Regions from separate parts of the Homo sapiens genome. Here all the other regions are linked to region 3. Evidence: promoter capture Hi-C in 16 types of primary human blood cells and fetal thymus (Javierre and others, 2016). All regions are on one chromosome and are shown on one strand. Each heading gives the region's core, a stretch centred on a gene start or on the middle of the fragment in contact. The rest is flanking DNA. Distances are from core to core; before and after follow the strand shown. Region 1 overlaps LOC105373914 (a long non-coding RNA gene). Region 2 holds the start of DOCK10 (dedicator of cytokinesis 10). Region 3 holds the start of IRS1 (insulin receptor substrate 1). Region 4 overlaps NYAP2 (neuronal tyrosine-phosphorylated phosphoinositide-3-kinase adaptor 2).

Evidence for each region. Contacts are between HindIII fragments. The CHiCAGO score rates a contact against its expected background, and 5 or more counts as called.
Region 1: a fragment that was not itself captured here is called in contact with the fragment with the promoter of IRS1 in region 3 in 1 of 17 cell types (M1 macrophages); the score reaches 5.3 in M1 macrophages.
Region 2: a contact is called between the fragment with the promoter of DOCK10 here and the fragment with the promoter of IRS1 in region 3, in 2 of 17 cell types (naive CD8 T cells and activated CD4 T cells). The highest score is 5.9, in naive CD8 T cells.
Region 4: a contact is called between a fragment that was not itself captured here and the fragment with the promoter of IRS1 in region 3, in 5 of 17 cell types (M0 macrophages, M2 macrophages, total CD4 T cells and 2 more). The highest score is 6.3, in M0 macrophages.

What each region holds. Positions count from the first base shown.
Region 1 is chr2:225,732,681-225,735,380 of GRCh38, reverse strand. The region is part of intron 4 of LOC105373914 (a long non-coding RNA gene); the gene reads left to right. Among named protein-coding and RNA genes, the nearest start is that of NYAP2, 330 kb to the right of the region's middle. The HindIII fragment of the contact is 3,361 bases long and covers 1-2,700 here.
Region 2 is chr2:225,041,051-225,043,750 of GRCh38, reverse strand. DOCK10 (dedicator of cytokinesis 10) reads left to right here and starts at 1,283. Exons shown (of 56, transcript NM_014689.3): 1 at 1,283-1,499. The coding sequence starts at 1,377. RefSeq lists silencers at 887-1,256, 1,447-1,686 and an enhancer at 2,237-2,576. The HindIII fragment of the contact is 1,396 bases long and covers 1,183-2,578 here.
Region 3 is chr2:226,798,532-226,801,231 of GRCh38, reverse strand. It overlaps IRS1 (insulin receptor substrate 1), which reads left to right and starts at 1,412. Exons shown (of 2, transcript NM_005544.3): 1 at 1,412-2,700. The coding sequence starts at 2,494. It also overlaps a transcript of RHBDD1 not described here. RefSeq lists silencers at 1-83, 1,044-1,113, 1,134-1,553, 2,544-2,593. The HindIII fragment of the contact is 8,747 bases long and covers 1-2,700 here.
Region 4 is chr2:225,693,197-225,695,896 of GRCh38, reverse strand. The region is part of intron 7 of NYAP2 (neuronal tyrosine-phosphorylated phosphoinositide-3-kinase adaptor 2); the gene reads right to left. All of the region lies in intron 5 of LOC105373914 (a long non-coding RNA gene), which reads left to right. Among named protein-coding and RNA genes, the nearest start is that of NYAP2, 290 kb to the right of the region's middle. The HindIII fragment of the contact is 1,099 bases long and covers 848-1,946 here.

The sequences.
Region 1 (2,700 bases), core at 11-2,510, 1.1 Mb after region 3:
TGTGGAGTGGGGCGGTGAAGTTTAGAAAGGGAGGGCTGAGTGGGAAAAAAAAAAGATGGGGGAGTTCCTCAAACCACAGGATGTAGAATCTTTTAGAACATGGAGAAGGGACATTTTCTAAAGTTCTATGTTCAATGCCAGGAATTTAAATTGCATCCTGCTATAATTGAAAATGTGTATGTCTAACCTAGGGTTTCTTAACCTCAGCGCTATTGACATTGGAGGTGGATAACTCTGTTGTGGAGCCTGACTTGTGTGTTATAGAATGTTTAGTAACATCTCTGGCCTCTTCCTCCAGATGCCAGTTGTCCTGTCCTCCATTAAGACAACCAAAATGTCTCAAGACATTGCCAGAGGTCCCCTGGGGGACAAAATCATACCCTGTGGAGAACCATTGGGCTAACTGGCCTGGATCTGCCACATGGGTGACCCTTCACATGTGAGGCAGTACCCAGCCTCCATCCGGCCCACCTTCCACCCTCAGGGAGTACCTGCTGCCCACTCCACCACTGCTGGTTGAGTCTTCCCTGCTGTTGGGCTCCAGCTGGCATCTTCTTCATGCAGCTAGTGCAGGCGAAACTTCTCAATAAAAGTTGGAGGTGGTGAAAATTGTTGCTGTGCCTCAGCACAAAACAAGAAGCAAATTGTGAATATTTGATATCAAAATGAATTAACTATATTGACCAATTCCATTGCAGAGAAATTCTCATGAACCATCTTTTTCCTCAATCTCTGATATCCTATCTTGGTCTAGGTTTCTTCCTTTCCCCCAAGAGTCCTTCTCTGGCTCACTCTTCTCCTCATACCAGTTTATGAGTTACTCCTGACTTTCCTTGCTACCACTACATAACTATACAGACCAATTTCACTCTGCGAGTATGTGTATGTATGTATGTATGTATGTACATGTGTACCTATCTATTTATCTATCCATCATGCAAAGATAGGTCCCAAACTTCAGGACCTATCTTTGCATGGTAGATAGATAAATAGGTAGGTATACATGTACATACATACATACACATATTCACTTATATATAAAGCACACATATATATGCATGTATATATATTAGCATACATTTGCATAGAGGAATATATGTATAAACACGCTAGTGTAGAAACAAAAACCATATTTGCTAAACCAAAGGGTTTAAATTGTTTGATGATCAATATACCCTTGATCTTCATACCTAATAAAATAAGCAGAGTATTTTCTCAAAGTGTCTCAGGCAAATGTTTGTGTAGACCCCCATCCCCCACCAAGCCAAGGAAACCTCAGGGATCAAAGAACAAATGGTAATTGTTCTGATTGTGTAGTAGAGCAGGTAGGTTTTATCCCGTTCTATGCTGAACACAGACCCTCACTCCATCCAGGCTAAGGCAATAGCAAACATTTCTTCTATGATGCAGTGCAAAGCAAGGCAGGGAAACACCTAACAAGAGACAGGCACTATGCAAACAAGAGGTTAATCTTCACTATGTAAAGATCTGATTGCCATTAAGACCCCTTGCATCAAAGTCATGCTATAAGGTCACAGTGAGTTCTTGCCCCCTTTTCCTTTTTCATATCAAGATCTAAAGCATCCCTTCCTCCCGTGGAGTGGCAGCTCTGGTTCAGACTAGGGAGGTGCCTAACACAAGATACCCATTAAAAAGAGGCAGGACCTCACAGAGGAGAGAGGCCGGGGGAAGGGTTAAGACCCTGCAAAGAGATGCTCCCCGACAACCACAGGGTATCTGACACTGGCTTCTCTACAGTCATATGCTCAGACCACAGGCCTAGGAACAGAATTCAGGGAGAAGTAATAGAATAGGCAGACCTTGTCAAGTTGAAATTTGTTGCCTGAACTTAAAATAAAGTCCTGATTAATCACTCTGCAAATTTTACTGGCAGCACCATCTTATTGAGCAATATGAAACCCCTCCCTTCCATAATTAGGGAATCACATCAACAAGTTTATATTACACTTAGAATATCCCGGGCATTCTCTTGTGCCATCTTGGAATATCTAACAACTAGGGTATTTTGGGAGGTCCCAGCACCATAATTGACTAACTAAAATGAGAATTAAGGGATTTGAATCATTGTAGGCATTTTAAACTACACCTATGACAAACCCAGGATGTAACACTCCTTCTAGATGGGTTTAATGGTGTTGGCTTGGGTTTTATTGTATCTCATATATTTCATTTGAAATCACATATGATCTGATGGAAAGAACTTTCCCCTGCACAAAATAATAGAAAGCATTCCTAAAGGGATGTGTTTTAGTCAAGGGAGAAAGGATTATGCCAAGGGATGTGAGTTAGTTCATGCAGCTTTGCACATCACTCTCATAGTCATGCCTGTGTCATATGGTTATTTTATCTTCTCATTAGCACATTTAATACGCTTAGATTCTATGGTTTAGAACTTTGAAATCTCAAATGTTTCCTTATGGGTACTGGAAAGGAATCCAAATTATATTTAGGAGAATATCACAAGTAGGATTTATGGCAAATTCACAGTTCAATCAAGAAATTTATACACATACACTCATACATATATATACATATATGGACATATATATCTATAACATATATACATATTTACTATATATGGTATATGATAGTTGAACCTTCACTCTTATGGACATAACATAAGCCATTGTCTAGATTACTAAGTCAGGAGAAAGACACCAATCAATATCCTGTACAGTA
Region 2 (2,700 bases), core at 34-2,533, 1.8 Mb after region 3:
ATCAATTGCTTAAGAATTCTTTATACCCAAATGTGACCTTGTGTTATAACTATCTATCATTGGCTTTAGAAAGTGGCAGGGTCATGGATCCATAAAAAGCTGTTAAGAAAAAACCAGACCACTTGGAAAGGCTGTCCCAGATCTCTCCAGACCAGTATCCAGGGGCCAGAACTTCTCTGCCCCCCATCCAGTCCAACACTGAATTGCAGAACCACCCTGGGTATGACCCAGGAAGAGACTTCTTAGAAGGCTTTCATCAGATACCTATCTAGAGGCAAAGTGCAGGCTAGATGGGTATGGGCAAGAGAAGAGCAGAGACAGCATAACTGTGAAATCCACCCCCGACCTGACCACCCTACATAGTAACCCTGCCAGTTGGTTCTTGCCTACTCATCCTAATGCCACCCAAAGTCTCTTACCCCCAGAACGCTGATTTATTGGTTTTGAGTTCGTGTTAGTAGCTTAAACTGTCTCCTTGATTTCTCTGTATTTGTTTATTTGTTCGCTTGGTTACTTGCTGTCTCCCACCCCTACCCCGAAAAAACCTATCAGCTCTACACAGCCTTAAAGTGTAGTTGCTAAGTTCCTCTCCGTATCCTCAGTTTCCAGAACAGTGTGAGCTGGCATATAGTAGGCGCTTAATAAATACTCATTGAAGGAGTGAATGAATGGGGAAGCTTATTCCAAGGCCCTGAACATGGACTTCTGGCAAGGGAGCCTTCCAAACGCTGGCTTGGGCGATGCTGCTGGGATCCCAGCCACCAGATCTTTAATAAGCCTCTGACCCCTTCCCGAGGGTGGAAGGGCGAACCGAGCTTGGCCCCCACCCACTAGCCGGACCCAGAAAATAGAAGTCTAAACGGCAAATGCATCCAGGGCTCCAACTCTCCCAGCAACCTCCAAATGAGGCTGACGGCCTTGGACAGGCGACGGCCTTGGACAGGCCCCGCCCGGAGCCCCTCGGCGGCCGCCCCCCGCCCTCCCCCGCAGCCTGCAGTTCCCCCGGGCGGCGTGGACAGCCCCGGCCGGCCAGCTGAGCCCGTGTGGGCGGCGCGGGCAGGAGCCGCCCCACACGCGTCCCGCGACGCCCGCTCCAGATGCGCCGCTGCAGGGCCCGGCCGCCAGCCGAGTTGGCCGCGCGCGCCCGGGGGAGCGCAGAGTTTGGAAAGTCTTCGAGAAGCTTCAGAGGAGGGAAGGGGGTGGGAAGAGTGGGGGTGCAAGAGAGAAAAACCCGCCTCTTGCGAGTTGAGCGAGGAAGAGGGGGGGGAAGGCTCCGAGTTCCGCTTCCTGAACGGCGGGTGGATAGAGAAGGTTGGCGCGGGGAAGACCGGCGGGAGGCGCGCCCCGGGCCCGCGGCGCGATTGGCGTGACCGGCGATGGCCGGTGAGCGGACCCGCAGGTTCACCCGGAGCCTGTTGAGACCTGGGCAGGCGGCCGAGCTCCGGCACAGCGCCGCGTCCGCCGCCGCGGTGGCAGTCAGCAGCCGGCAGCAGCAGCGGGTGAGTGCGGCGCGTCCTCCGCGCCTTCCCGCGCGCCCCAGGCGCCCGGGGGGAACGGAGCCCAGCTTCCCCAAAAGCTCGGCGGGCCCAGGTCCCCGCAGCTCACGGGTCCTCTCCTCCGCACTCCCTCCCCCGCCGCCTCTGCGGGCTCCCCCGGCGCCACCTCAGCGAGGCAGCGCCACCGACGCGTAAGGACCGGGGGCGCGTTTGTGCACGCGGGACGCTCAGAGGAGCAGCTGCGTGGGTAGCAGAAGCGCAGCGTGGGAGAGGATGTGCAGGGGCTTTAATGGGGCGCGAGGGGGCCGGAATGCACCGCCAGTCACACTGGTGCTAAGTGATACGAGTGCCAGAGACCCCGGGTGGGGTGGGGGGATCTACAGAACAGAACCCCTGAGTCCGGAGGTCTGCGCGTCCCTCTCACCCTCCAGTAAACAGACCAGTGCGCTGAGAGAGAGGGATGCAGTCCGTGGTCCTCGCCCTGGTTAGAGCTGGGGCCCCCCGACGTTAACTATCGCAGAAATAGATGTACTTGGAACAGCCCTCCCACCGCAGGGTAAAAACCCACAAACCACTTAATACTCCTCCAGAAAGGGCTGAGGAACACAGGCTGGAGGAGACGTGGGTCATTAGGTCTCCAGCGGTTTCTGATATTTTTCTAAGATGTTTCGCGGGGTTCTCCCACCAGCAATGCTTTACTGGTTACTTCCTTATTGAAACGGCTTCTAAGTGCTGGGTGATTTCCGCGGGAAGTCCCTGGGGCAGCAGCCAGCATCTGATGCTAGGATCCTATCCATACCAACCCAGATGTTCCTGCGTTGCAGTAGGTCCACACTGCCGGGGAGAGGTGGCAAGAGACAAATCAACTCTAGTGGAAACGGGAAGCGAGTGGGAACAACAGCCTCACAGCAAGACCGGGGCTCAGCAGCCGCGCTCTTGGCCTGCGTTTGGTGGACCGGAATCCGGGTTGTGTGTTTCATTTTCTTTTTTGCCAGAAAATATCATTAGGAACTAAACGGCTCTTTTTAAGAGTGTGAAAGTGTTACTCTTGCCAGTCACCAATGAGGAGGGCGCCAAAAGCTTCCCAGAGCCAGTTCCCACAGCCAGGACTATTCTCTAAAGCCAGAGGTCGGAAAGTTGAACAGAACGGAAGCAAATTGCCTGGCAGAGGGAAGAGGCATCGGGTGCCCAGGGGGTGTAGAGC
Region 3 (2,700 bases), core at 163-2,662:
GAGGCGCGCTCCCCCGCGGCCCGCCGGGTCCCAGCCACTGAGCATGCCCAGCGCCTCGACTGCTGAGTGCCCAGCCAGCATCCTGCAGTGCCTGGGAGCCTGAGGCCGAGGAGGGTCCCGGCGTAGTAAAGGGGCGGCAACCCCAAACGGGCCAGGCATCAAAATGAGACAGCATTAAACCGAGTGACATCTCTGTGGGTCCTTAGTGCCAGGCGAGCAAGCAGGGACAAACTGCTTGTTTATAGGTCGGCTTAAAAAATAAAAAAACTCTGGGGAGCGTTTGTTTGTGGGGAGACTGATACCGCAAGGTGACCCTGAAAGGGGCGCTTCAAGTAGACCCAGGCTGCTGATCTGGTCCACTCATGAAGTAACCATTTTCCTGTACAGTTGAGCTGGCACCATCCTTGTTTTCTCCCTGTTATCCTTGTGGTCAAGGTTAAAAACTTATAGGGTGGTTCAATGGGTGTGGGAGCTGTGTGTGAAACAAACATTTCAGCCAATATTTGCACAGTAGGGTTTTGGCCTTATGAACCCTCTGAAGGTCCCTAACAGCTTTTTAAAGTCACGGATAGACTTCGGAATATGATAAGGGACCTCTCATTTCCCCTCCCCCATGCCCTCAGCCTTAGGTGTGAGTCCCCCCGTCACACGGATGGGCAAGGGGAGCAGGAGAAAAGGTGATATTTACATTTTCTCCCTACTTGATCAGCAACTAATTCCACAGCGCCGGACGTGAGACACTTCCTGGGGATCCCTGTTCTCCTTTTGTAGTGACCATAACTGCCCCCAGTCACTGCCCTTGGGCGTCCCTCTGTTCCTTCCAGGTACCTCACGGCAGCAAATCTGGGGATCCCAAGGTGGAAGGCTGGCCCAGAAGTCCTTTAGAAAAACCTTAAAAAATACAGATCCCCTCACCATGGCCTATCGCCCTGAAGCCGAAATCTAGCTTTTAAATTTCCTGGGGGAAACAGCCTTGACTAGAAACCTCCCTCCCGTGGGTCAGTCTTACCTGATAGGTAAGAGGCAGCCCAGCTCCGGCGCCCCCGCCTCCCCCCGGCCTCCCACTCGGGGCTCTGTAGCCGCAGTGCCCCCCCGTGGCCCCCCACCCTCACTCCTGCGTCTTCCCGAGCTCGCCCCCTCCCGTTTTCCCAGACTCCCCTCGTGCTTTCGGGTAGCCACCCAAACACCCCCGCCTGCGCCCGCCGCGGGGATTCCTGCGGGCCGGGGGCGCCCCGGTTGGCGCGCGTGTAGGGAGGCGCTGCGCCGGAGCTGGCGGCCGCGCAGGGGCGCTGTCCTAGCGCTGCGCCGGGGTCGGCGCGGGCGCCGCTGCAGCACGGCTGGGGGGCGGAGAGGGGCGGGCGCGGGGCGGGCTCGGCCCGGAATGTAGAGACCCGGGCGGGAGCCTCCCGGCGGCGGCTGCCCGGCTGCCGAGCGCGGAGGCTCCGTCACGTGTTTTTCTCCTCCGAGTGAGACGGCGGCGCGGTCGGAGGGGGCCGGCGCGCAGAGCCAGACGCCGCCGCTTGTTTTGGTTGGGGCTCTCGGCAACTCTCCGAGGAGGAGGAGGAGGAGGGAGGAGGGGAGAAGTAACTGCAGCGGCAGCGCCTCCCGAGGAACAGGCGTCTTCCCCGAACCCTTCCCAAACCTCCCCCATCCCCTCTCGCCCTTGTCCCCTCCCCTCCTCCCCAGCCGCCTGGAGCGAGGGGCAGGGATGAGTCTGTCCCTCCGGCCGGTCCCCAGCTGCAGTGGCTGCCCGGTATCGTTTCGCATGGAAAAGCCACTTTCTCCACCCGCCGAGATGGGCCCGGATGGGGGCTGCAGAGGACGCGCCCGCGGGCGGCGGCAGCAGCAGCAGCAGCAGCAGCAGCAACAGCAACAGCCGCAGCGCCGCGGTCTCTGCGACTGAGCTGGTATTTGGGCGGCTGGTGGCGGCTGGGACGGTTGGGGGGTGGGAGGAGGCGAAGGAGGAGGGAGAACCCCGTGCAACGTTGGGACTTGGCAACCCGCCTCCCCCTGCCCAAGGATATTTAATTTGCCTCGGGAATCGCTGCTTCCAGAGGGGAACTCAGGAGGGAAGGCGCGCGCGCGCGCGCGCTCCTGGAGGGGCACCGCAGGGACCCCCGACTGTCGCCTCCCTGTGCCGGACTCCAGCCGGGGCGACGAGAGATGCATCTTCGCTCCTTCCTGGTGGCGGCGGCGGCTGAGAGGAGACTTGGCTCTCGGAGGATCGGGGCTGCCCTCACCCCGGACGCACTGCCTCCCCGCCGGGCGTGAAGCGCCCGAAAACTCCGGTCGGGCTCTCTCCTGGGCTCAGCAGCTGCGTCCTCCTTCAGCTGCCCCTCCCCGGCGCGGGGGGCGGCGTGGATTTCAGAGTCGGGGTTTCTGCTGCCTCCAGCCCTGTTTGCATGTGCCGGGCCGCGGCGAGGAGCCTCCGCCCCCCACCCGGTTGTTTTTCGGAGCCTCCCTCTGCTCAGCGTTGGTGGTGGCGGTGGCAGCATGGCGAGCCCTCCGGAGAGCGATGGCTTCTCGGACGTGCGCAAGGTGGGCTACCTGCGCAAACCCAAGAGCATGCACAAACGCTTCTTCGTACTGCGCGCGGCCAGCGAGGCTGGGGGCCCGGCGCGCCTCGAGTACTACGAGAACGAGAAGAAGTGGCGGCACAAGTCGAGCGCCCCCAAACGCTCGATCCCCCTTGAGAGCTGC
Region 4 (2,700 bases), core at 148-2,647, 1.1 Mb after region 3:
GTATTTTATGCCTTTTGGTGTCCTCTAATTCCTAGCTCAGGACTGTAGACATGAGCATTCACTTTTTAAATAAAATTTTAGGTGTTTGTTGAGTTAATCTAATGAATAAGTTTGTGTTCCAACAGGAGACTGTCAAAGTGGCTCAGAAATTTTTCAAAAGACTTACAATATTTCATAACATGATAATCTGTGCAATAAAAATGCAGTAACTCTATTTTGGTGAAAATGCAAGAAAAATTTATTGAGTAACTACAAACTGTCATAATGAAATTTATAACACAGAATTCCCAGAGGACAGGCTTCAAATCTCACTCATCTTGGTGGTCCCAACATGTAGAACAGAGTCCTAGGCTTTCAATAGAAGTTTTATGACTTAAATAGAAGCCAACATCATAGAACAGTTTTTGTTGTCTCTCAAAAAAATAAAATAAAATCCAGATAATCTTCTTAGTAAAATACTATGGGTTCTATACATTTCAACATCATTGCAAAACCTCCAAACTTCTTTAAGTCCCAATATTTCTTACAGCATCACTTCTATGATTTTATTTTATTTAGTTGTCTACACAAACATTAAGTCATGTGTTACTTAATTCCCTTTAATATATTTTGGCATAAATTGGTATGTGCAACTGAAAAATAATTTTTCTGGATTCCCTTGACAACAGGGTCACCTATATATTTCACAGTTGCATAACATTTCATATATGTATATACAGTGTACTGTATTATCCATAAAATATGTATTTTGTGTCAAGCAGAAATGCTATAGAGGTGTGTAAATTTATTAAGAATATATTTCTTAAACTCTAAAGAATAGAAGAATAAGAATAAAAATTATAAAGCTTGGAATTTTATTCTTTAGATTTTTATTTTGCATTAAATAGTTATATGTCCACTTGATTGATAGAATGGTCTGAATTGCTAGAAAAAGAAAATAACTTTTTTTTTCAGACTTACTCCATAATATTTAACTCATGTTTTGGAGACATGTGTAGTGAGTAAGAAAATATTGCCCAATATATAAACTTCCATGAAAAAAGCATTGCCCAATACATGAAAGATGGCTAGGTATCAGACAATAATTCAAACTCAGGTTGCTGGAAGATTGTCCATTCAAAATATAAATATATATTTGAAAATATCTCAACAAATATATAGATTCTAGTATATAATCTTCTTATTTTATATCTGCTATCAATTTGTTTCCATTTAAACTCCCCCAAAATATTTCTGTTAAGATGTGATAAATAAACATAGAATATAATTATATTGTGGGAAGATATATCTGCTTCCCACATTTATTTTTAAATAGCACATGTTTGGGTGCATAGTCATTTTAATTCTCAAAATCGAACTCCAATGTTGCTACTGTGGCCATTTCCATCGTTGAGTCCCCCAAAAATATATCTAAATATTATTTTTTGTTGATAGTAAGATGTCATGCTTTCATTCATTGTTTTGGATATAATAAATAGCATGTTTAGCAAGTATGTGAAGTATGTTAAAAATACTACCCATAAAAAATTGCATCGCTTTTCTATTTTCTTTTCTTTTATCACAAAATTCTTCATATTCTTAAAAGAAAAAAAAAAGATGTGTAAAATCCCATTCCACCTCTCCCTGGAATTGAAAGAACTCTGGGAATTGACTATTAAAACGAATTTGAAGCCAAGCCCAGTAAATAAACTCTTCTAGTTTAGTTATTTAATTCAATGGCCTTATTTCTTATCTTTAATCCAAAGGCATTTATTATACTGTTTATCCCATGAAGAAAAGAAAAAATGTATACGTAAGTAGGTAAGTACACATCAAAAGTTAACTGTAGGACAGTTGTTCAATTCATATGAACACACACCTCTAGGACAAGATTTTTATACCAGCATGATTCAGCAGAAGCAACATCCTTGGATAATAAGTCCATGGAAATAAAATCAAGTGAAGCTTCCTGTCTAGGAGGTGAAATTTCAATCTCCACCCCTTTTTTGTGGGCTACACACAGTGACTTCTTCCTAAAAAGTACAGTGTGGAAAGCTAGGAGGAAAGTAACTATACATTGGAGGAACCTGGTGTTATGGTCTGAACGTTTGTGCCCCCTTAAAATTCTTATGTTGGGATCCTGACCTTCGAGGTGATGGTACTAAGAGGTGGGACCTCCTCAAGGTGATTGGGAGGTGCATGGGACTAGTACTCTTATAAAATAATCCCAAGAGAGCTCTTCCACCCCTTCAGCCAGGCTGCCGATACAGCAAGTAGTCAACAGTCTGCAACCAGGAAGAGTGTCTTTACCAGATCATAACCATGCTGTCACCCTGGTCTTGGACTTCTCAGTTTCCAGAACGGTGAAAAATAACTTTTTGTTGTTTATAAGCTACCCAGTGTATAGTATTCTGTTCTGGCACCCCAAACGGACAAGAAACCTGGCAAACATCACCCCCAACAGGCGATCAACCGTAGTAAACTATACTGGCAGTATGTATCCTTGGTATAATGTGATGAGACCAGAGACACTTTTACCTCTGCCATCTTCCTCCTCAAAACCCATAACTCCACTCTAATCATGAGAAACCACTAGAGAAACCCAAATTGAGAGACAGTTTACAAAATACCATACCAGTACTCCTCAAAGCTCCAAAGGTCATCCAAAATAAGGAAAGTCTGAGAAACTGTCACATCCTAGAGAAGGGTAAGGAAACCCAA